Regions from separate parts of the Homo sapiens genome. Here regions 2 and 3 are each linked to region 1. The links are contacts of gene promoters, found by promoter capture Hi-C in human tissues and cell types (Jung and others, 2019). All regions are on one chromosome and are shown on one strand. Each heading gives the region's core, a stretch centred on a gene start or on the middle of the fragment in contact. The rest is flanking DNA. Distances are from core to core; before and after follow the strand shown. Region 1 holds the start of SEMA3F (semaphorin 3F). Region 2 overlaps RBM5 (RNA binding motif protein 5). Region 3 overlaps GNAT1 (G protein subunit alpha transducin 1).

The links. Contacts are between HindIII fragments. The study calls those that stand out against the background at their distance.
Region 2: a fragment that was not itself captured here is called in contact with the fragment with the promoter of SEMA3F in region 1 in 1 of the 25 tissues and cell types used here (dorsolateral prefrontal cortex).
Region 3: a contact is called between a fragment that was not itself captured here and the fragment with the promoter of SEMA3F in region 1, in 2 of the 25 tissues and cell types used here (heart right ventricle and psoas muscle).

What each region holds. Positions count from the first base shown.
Region 1 is chr3:50,154,028-50,156,608 of GRCh38, forward strand. SEMA3F (semaphorin 3F) reads left to right here and starts at 1,297. Exons shown (of 19, transcript NM_004186.5): 1 at 1,297-1,537. LOC124909484 (basic proline-rich protein-like) reads left to right here and starts at 643. Exons shown (of 2, transcript XM_047449434.1): 1 at 643-669; 2 at 1,034-1,762. The coding sequence starts at 643. The coding sequence ends at 1,762. SEMA3F-AS1 (SEMA3F antisense RNA 1) reads right to left here and starts at 2,058. Exons shown (of 4, transcript NR_135301.1): 1 at 1,707-2,058. RefSeq lists silencers at 572-631, 642-781, 812-1,281. The HindIII fragment of the contact is 29,271 bases long and covers 1-2,581 here.
Region 2 is chr3:50,094,371-50,096,951 of GRCh38, forward strand. All of the region lies in intron 4 of RBM5 (RNA binding motif protein 5), which reads left to right. Among named protein-coding and RNA genes, the nearest start is that of RBM5-AS1, 5.3 kb to the right of the region's middle. The HindIII fragment of the contact is 4,849 bases long and covers 1-2,581 here.
Region 3 is chr3:50,197,418-50,199,998 of GRCh38, forward strand. GNAT1 (G protein subunit alpha transducin 1) reads left to right here. Exons shown (of 9, transcript NM_144499.3): 9 at 1-279. Among named protein-coding and RNA genes, the nearest start is that of SLC38A3, 6.6 kb to the right of the region's middle. The HindIII fragment of the contact is 5,603 bases long and covers 1-2,581 here.

The sequences.
Region 1 (2,581 bases), core at 47-2,546:
GGAAAAGAGGGAGAAGAGGAGAGAGGAAGAGGGAGAAGAGAGGGGAGAAGGAAGGAGAGGCAGAGGGAGAAGAGGAGAAAGGAAAGAGGAGAAAGAGGAGGGCACAGAAGACAGAACAGGAAGAGGATGAAGGAGAGGACAAAGGGCCAACGCCCCTGGGAGCCTCCGCAGGGTGCCCGGGGCAGGGCTGAGAAGTGGTCCTGGTGGTGAGGCCATGACCTTGGAAAGTTGGGTTGGGCAGAGGGTCCCTTCCTGGGGTCACGGTAGGCCCTTCTCAGTTGCTGAGCCATTGGCTCATCACCAGGCCATTTGAAAGCAAATGTCCCCTTGAGGAGAGAAGGTGCTAGCTGATCTGGCCTCTCTAAGGTATGGAACTATAAGGAGAGTCTGTGGGAGCTGCTGGCCTGAAATAAGGGCTGGCGATTGAGGCGATCACGGGGAGTCGTTGAATGGCTGGAGAGAGCTGTGTGGCTGGGCTGCCCCCGACCTGGCCTAGGCTGGAGGCTGAGCCCGCGGGAAGGTCCGGCGGTGCCAGCCGTCCCAGGGGCTGCACCGCCACCTGCTGAGCAGCCCGGGCAGTCAGGGGTCCTGCGCCGCGGGGCCCACGCACGGGACCAGGGGCACGGCCGGCGGCGAGTGGGAATGAGGGACGCGGAAGGGGGTGCTCAGGTGAGCGCAGGCTCGTTGCTCCCTGGCGCTGCAGCCCTTCTCGCCAGGGAGTTGAATGCCCGGGTAAACACCAGGCGCGATGTGTGCGGTGTATTCACAGAGAGACAAAGCCAGGGCGGGGCGGGGGCGCCGCCCGCGAAGCGGGGGCGGGGGCGAGGGGTGCAGACTAGTCTCCCCCGGCGCGGGGTGCCCACCGCCTGGGAACCCTGAGCCCGGCCCACGGACAGGTGGAGCGGGGGCGGGGCGGTGGCTGGGCGGGTCCCGCCCCGGGGGTGGGGCTGGGCGGGCCGGGCGGGGCGGGGCTGCGCTATGCAAATGTCGCCCACGGGCGGCCAATTGCCGGCGCTCCCCGCGCGGCTCTGAGCGCCCCGTCCCGCCGGCGGCCGCGAGACCAGAGCGAGCGAACGAACCGCGGCGGTCCGGAGAGCCCCGAGCGCAGCGCAGGACCTGGGTACGCCGCGAGGAACCGTGCAGCCCAGCGCGGCCGCCCGGCCCGGGTCCAGCAGCCAGGAGAGCGCAGCGCTTCGAAGCCGAGTGCGCGCCACCGCCCGCGCCCCGCGCTGGGGAATGCGCCCTCGGCGCGCCGGCCAGGGGGCGCCCGCAGCCCACCCCAGGGGAGGCGGCCCCGAGCGCCCCTGAGCCTTCCCATGGCCCGGGCTGGGGCCCGGGCCCTCGGCTGCTGACGCGCCCGAAGCCCGCGGAACCGGTTAAGCCGCGGCCGCGGCGCCGATCCCGGCTGAGGCGCAGCGGCGAGAGGTCGCGGGCAGGGCCATGGCCCCGGGGGGCCGCTAGCGCGGACCGGCCCAACGGGAGCCGCTCCGTGCCGCCGCCGCCGCCCGGGCGCCCAGGCCCCGCCGCTGCGGAAGAGGTGAGTGCAGCGGGAACCGGGAGGGAGCGGGCAGGCGGCCGGGCCACCCCGCGACCCCTCTGGGACCCGCGGCACTGCAACTCCGCAGAAGTGTCCGGGGAGCGGGTCTCGTCGAGCCGGGGGGCTGCCCGCGGACATAGGGGCAACAAGGCTGGGGTGGGATTCTTACCTGTCCTGGAGGCCCGGACCCCTTACCTACGGGGCGGCGTATGGATGTGTGGATGATGTGGCCTGCGGGGTCACCCATGTGCAAAGCAACTTTTTCCTGCAAGGTTCTGGGTGGGTGCTCTCATACACCCCCACCTTCACGCTTCTGGAGCGGGAGTTCCGATCCCCCTTCTGCCTCAGCTCTCTCTCCCATTAACGCCCGAGGCAGCGCTCTTCCCCGTAGATGCGCTTGCCCTACCTCAGTGTCTCTACTTGAGGACTGGCCAGCCCGAAGGGAAGCGGTATACTGGCAGTCCCCACGTGGGGGGTCTCCCACATCAGCAGAGTGGGAGGACCTCCAGTCCTGAGGCATTTCTCCCAGCATTGTGCCAGCCCCTTGACCCCCAGCTGCCACCTTGGGTTTGCTTTTACAGCAGAGTCCTGCCTGGATTAGGGGCACGGCTGTATGTAGTGTGTAGGTGAGCTTGGAGAGCCTGCGGTCAATCCCTAGTTTGAACCAGGGGTCCCAGTGGTGAAGTGGGCAGGGGACAGCGGGGGCTTGGCGGGGTTGCCCCCAGCAGATGGGACAGGAGGGTATCAAAGTTGGCCTAGGAATGAGGCAGTGCTGGCGGGAGTTGGCTGGAGCTGGGGCTGGGGGCCCCACTGGATAAATAACTCCTAATTTTTGAGATAGCTGTGTTTTGCCACCAGAACATTACTGCTTGGGAGAGGTAAGGGAGACGCCAACCAAAGACACCAGTATGTCCACCCTGAAGCTGGGCCAGGTTGGGGACCTCTGTCCTCCTGAATTCACCCAGATAGTCTCCCAGTAGTTATCCTAGTTGCAGAGAAGGGAAAACTGCACCCAGGGGTTGGGAGCCCCATCTCAGCCCAGGG
Region 2 (2,581 bases), core at 1-2,500, 60 kb before region 1:
CTCCTGCCACCCGCCTCGGCCTCCCAAAGTGCTGGGATTACAGGCGTGAGCCACCTTGCCCGGCCAACACTTTAAATAATTTTATACACAAAACAATGTGTGCTTTGTTTTTTTGTTTGTGATATTTTTGTTTCTGTTTTTTACAGGCAGGGTCTCATTGTCACCCAGTCTGGAGTATAGCAATGCAATCATAGCTCACTGCAGCCTCAAACTCCTGGGCTCAAGTGATCTTTTTACTTCAGTAGCTGGCAGGTGCATGCCACCACACCCAGCTAATTTATTTTTTGTAGAGCCAGGCTGGGCTAAGTATGTTGCCTGGACTAAAAGGTTTGACTGCCCTCTTGTCTGTGACCTTTCAAATAAGGTCAGGGGTGGAATTTTCCACTTGTTGTGTCATGTTAGTGCTCAGAAAATTTCAGATTTTGGAGCATTTCAAATTTTTGGATTAGGGTTGCTCAACCTGTATCTATCTCAGCTAGTGAAATATTTTTCTGTCTTTAGGGAAAAGTTCACTGAACTAGGTTCAGAAGTAAGTTACCATTTTGGCCAGGCGCGGTGGCTCATGCCTGTAATCCCAGGCACTTTGGGAGGTCGAGGCGGGTGGATCACTTGAGGTCAGGAATTTGAGACCAGCCTGGCCAACATGGTGAAACCCTGTCTCTACTAAAAATACAAGAATTAGCTAGGTGTGGTGGTGCATACCTGTAGTCCCAGCTACTTGGGGAGGTGCTGAGACAGGAGAATGGCTTGAACCTGGGAGGCGGAGTTTACAATGAGCCAAGATCACGCCATTGCACTCCAGCCTGGGTGACAGAACAAGACCCTGTCTCAAAAACAAAAAGAAGTAAATTACCATATTTAGGCTTTGAAGCTCAATGTATGAGTTTTCTAAATGTCTTTAACCACAGGGAGCAGGTCTTCTGTCTTCATTAGCTCCTAGAAGATAATCAATATATTTTTATTGAATTAGTTACTTATTAGATGAGGATGATTGGTAAATACCTAATTTTCTTTATAATCTGGCCACCCTTTTATTTGTTGAAAATTGAACTACCCATTTGAAACCTCAGAAAAGCTTGTTAAAAAGGACGGCTCATTCAGACTGGCCAATTAGAGTCTTAGTGTACTTGGCACTGCCTGATTTCCAGCAGCATCTCTGGTCCTCACCCTTCCTTCCAGCCACACCCTACTTTCCACATCCTGGACTTTGGACATGTCCATTGCTCTACTGTTGTGCCTTTTTCTGCTTGGAGACGCCTGTATGTAAAGCCTGATCTATCGGGCAGAGCTTCTTCTTCGTTATTCTCTTCCTAAGGCACTGTATTCATGACTTTTGTGTAGCACCTTTACTGTAGCCATCAACACACATGTCTCATCTCTACCACAAGATCTCTGAAAATAGGCCTCTGTGTGAACTAGTCACCTCTGTGTCCCCAACCCTTGAACACAGTATGTTACTCAGCCAGTGCTCTTGGTAAAAATGAATGTGAGGTTTTAAAACAGCAGTGTGCCAGTATTTGTTTTCTTGGAGTAATCAAAGTAATATTCTGACTAATGTTTAGTTGAATTTTGGATAAAGCTCAAAATAAGCATTGGATTCCCGTAGCTTTGGGTTTCTAAACCCTGGAAGTAATGAATGTGACAAATGTGAGACAGGATATTAGAGTTAATAGTGGGTAATCATTCCATTATTTGTGATCCACTGCACATCTGCTACACTGTACATGTTAGATGCTACAGTGACACAGAGCTATGGATCTTGCCTCAAAAAAGCTTATGGATGAGTAGCTAAGGTCAGCAGATAATGGTGACAATGCAGAATAGAAAGGGGTCAGAGGCCGAGTATGGTAACTCATGCCTGTAATCCCAGCACTTCGGGAGGCCAAGGTGAAAAGAGTGCTTGAGCCCAGGAGTTCAAGTCCAACCTGGACAACATGGTAAGACGCATCTCTCCAAAAAAAAAAAAAAATAGCCAGTCTTAATGGCGCTTGTCTGTGGTCCCAGTTACTTGGGAGACTGAGGCAGGAAGATCACTTGAGCCTAGGAGGTCAAGGGTACAGTGAGTTGTGTTCACGCCACTGCACTCCAGCCTGAGCGACAGAGCAAGACCCTGTCTCAAAAAGAGGGTCATGTCGGAAAAGGTCCTATTGAAAGAGGTCTGCCTAAGAGCTCTTGAAGGTTATTTAAAGGAAATTGTTACTAGTGGAGGGTAAGGAATCTTCTATTTTTATTTTTGTGAGACAGGGCCTTACTCTGTCGCATAGGCTGGAGTGCAATCGCGTGATTGTGGCTCACAGCAGCCTCCAACTTTTGGGGCTCAGGCAATCCACCAGCCTCAGCCTCCCAAGTAGCTGGGATTACAGGCATGTGTCACCACTCCGAGCTAATTTTTTTTTTTATCGTTTGTTTTTTTTTTTGTAGAGACAAGGTCTCTCTTTATTGCCTAGACTGGTCTTGAACTCTTGTCTTCAATCAATCCTCCCGCCTGGGTCTCCCAAAGTGCTAGGATTATAGGCGTGGAAAACTAAGGGAATGGTGTGGTAGATGGGCCCTTCAGGCGGAGGGGTATCACATGAGCAGG
Region 3 (2,581 bases), core at 30-2,529, 43 kb after region 1:
CTTTCCATCTCTATGAATGTGACTGCTCTAAGTGCCTCAGATGTGTGGGTCCATGAAGTCTTTGTCTTTTTGCAACTGGCTTATTTCACTTAGCATCATGTCTTCAAGGTTTATTCATGTGTAGCATATGGCAGAATCTCCTTCCTTTTTAAGGTTGAATAATATTCCATTGTATATATTCCACACTTTGTTTATTTATTCATCTATTGATGAATGGTTACATCTGCCTTTTGGCTATTGTGAATAATGCTGCTATGAACATGGGTGTACAAATCTCTCTCCCAGCCTCTGTTTTTTATTATTTTGGGTGTATACCCAGAAATGGAACTGGCAAATCATATGGTGAATCTTTTTTTTTTTTTTTTTTTTTTGAGACAGAGTCTCTCTCTGTCGCCAGCCTGGAGTGCAGCGGCACAATTTCGGCTCCCTGCAACCTCCGCCTCCCAGGTTCAAGCAATTATCCTGCCTCAGTCTCCTGAGTAGCTGGGACTACAGGCACACGCCACCATGCCCAACTAATTTTTGTGTTTTTAGTAGAGACGGGGTTTCACCATGTTGTCCAGGATGGTCTCGATCTATCTCTTGATCTCAGGTGATCTGCCCACCTCGGCCTCCCAGAGTGCTGGGATTACAGGCGTGAGCCACTGCAACCGGCCTCATATGGTGAATCTATTTTTATTTTATTTATTTATTTATTTATTTATTTTGAGACGAAGTTTTGCTCTTGTTGCCCAGGCTGGAGTGGCAATGGCATGATCTCGGCTCACTGCAACCTCCTCCTTCCATGTTCAAGTGATTCTGCCTCAGCCTCCCAAGCAGCTAGGATTACAGGCATGTGCCACCACACCTGGCTAATTTTGTATTTTTAGTAGAGATGGGGTTTCACCATGTTGGTCAGGCTGGTCTCGAACTCCCAACCTCAGGTGATCCGCCTGCCTTGGTCTCCCAAAGTGCTGGGATTACAGGCGTGAGCCACTGCACCTGACCCCTTTTTTTGAAATGAAGTCTCACTCGGTCGCCCAGGCTGGAGTGCAGTGGCACGATCTCAGCTCACTGCAATCTCTGCCTCCCGGGTTCAAGTGATTCTCCTGCCTCAGTCTCCCAAGAAGCTGGGAGTATAGGCACCCACCACCATGCCTGGCTAATTTTTGTATTTAGTAGAGATGGGGTTTCACCATGTTGGCCAGGCTGGTCTTGAATTCCTGACCTCAAGTGATCTGCCCACCTCGGCCTCCCGAAGTGCTGGGATTACAGGTGTGAACCACTGCGCTCAGCCTACTTTTAATATTTTGAGGAACAGTTTTCCACAGCAGCTGTACCATTTTACATTCCCACCAACAGTGCACAGGTGGTCCCCCTTCCTCTACATATTTGTGAACTCTTGTTATTTTCTGGGTTTTGTTTTGTTTGAGATGGGGTCTCGCTCTGTTGCCCAGGCTGGAGTGCAGTGGCACAATCTCGGCTCTGCAACCTCTGCCTCCTGGGTTCAAGCAATTCTCCTGTCTCAGCCTCCCGAATAGCTAGGACTACAGCTGCATGCCAGCATGCCCGGCTAATTTTTTTTTTTTTTTTTTTGAGACGGAGTTTCATTCTTGTTGCCCAGGCTGGAGTGCAATGGTGTGATCTCAGCTCACTGCAACCTCCACCTCCTGGGTTCAAGCCATTCCCCTGCCTCAGCCTCCCAAGTAGCTGGGATTACAGGAATGCACCACCACATCTGGCTAATTTTGTATTTTTGGTAGAGACGGGGTTTCTCCATGTTGGTCAGGCTGGTCTCAAACTCCCGACCTCAAGTGATCCGCCCGCCTCGGTCTCCCAAAGTGCTGGGATTACAGGCATGAGCCACCGCACCTGACCTATTTTTCTTTTTTAATAGTAGTATCTCTTGGTAGTTTTGATTTGCATTTTCCTACTGCTTAGTGATGTTGAGAATCTTTTCCTGTGCTTATTGGCCATCTGTATATCTTCTTTGGAGAAATGCCTGTCCAAGTCCTTTGCCCATTTTTGAATTGAGTTATTTTAATGTTGTTGTTGAGTCTTAGAAGTTCTCTATATATTCTGGAGAATAATTCCTTATCAGAGATAGGATTTGCAAATTTTTTTCCCACTCCGTGGGTTGCCTTTTAAACTCATTTTATGTATTTTTAATGGTTAATTTTTTTCCAGAACATTAAATAGTTGAAAAAACTTGTAAAAGTAGGTATGTTAAAACTCACATTATTTTAAGCTTGAATATTTTATTTATAACTTAAACAGAATTTTTTTTTTTTGAGATGGAGTTTCACTCTTGTTGGCCAGGCTGGAGTGCAATGGCGTGATCTTGGCGCACAGCAACTTCTGCCTCCTGGGTTCAAGCGATTCTCCTGCCTCAGCCTCCTGAGTAGCTGGGATTACAGGCATGCACCACCACGCCCGGCTAATTTTGTAGTTTTAGTAGAGACCGGTTTTTTTCATGTTAGTCAGGCTAGTCTTGAACTCCCGACCTCAGGTGATCTGCCCGCCTCACCTCCCAAAGTGCTGAGATTGCAGGTGTGAGCCACTGTGCCCGGCCAGAATTTCTTATAATTCTATTTTCCTGGGT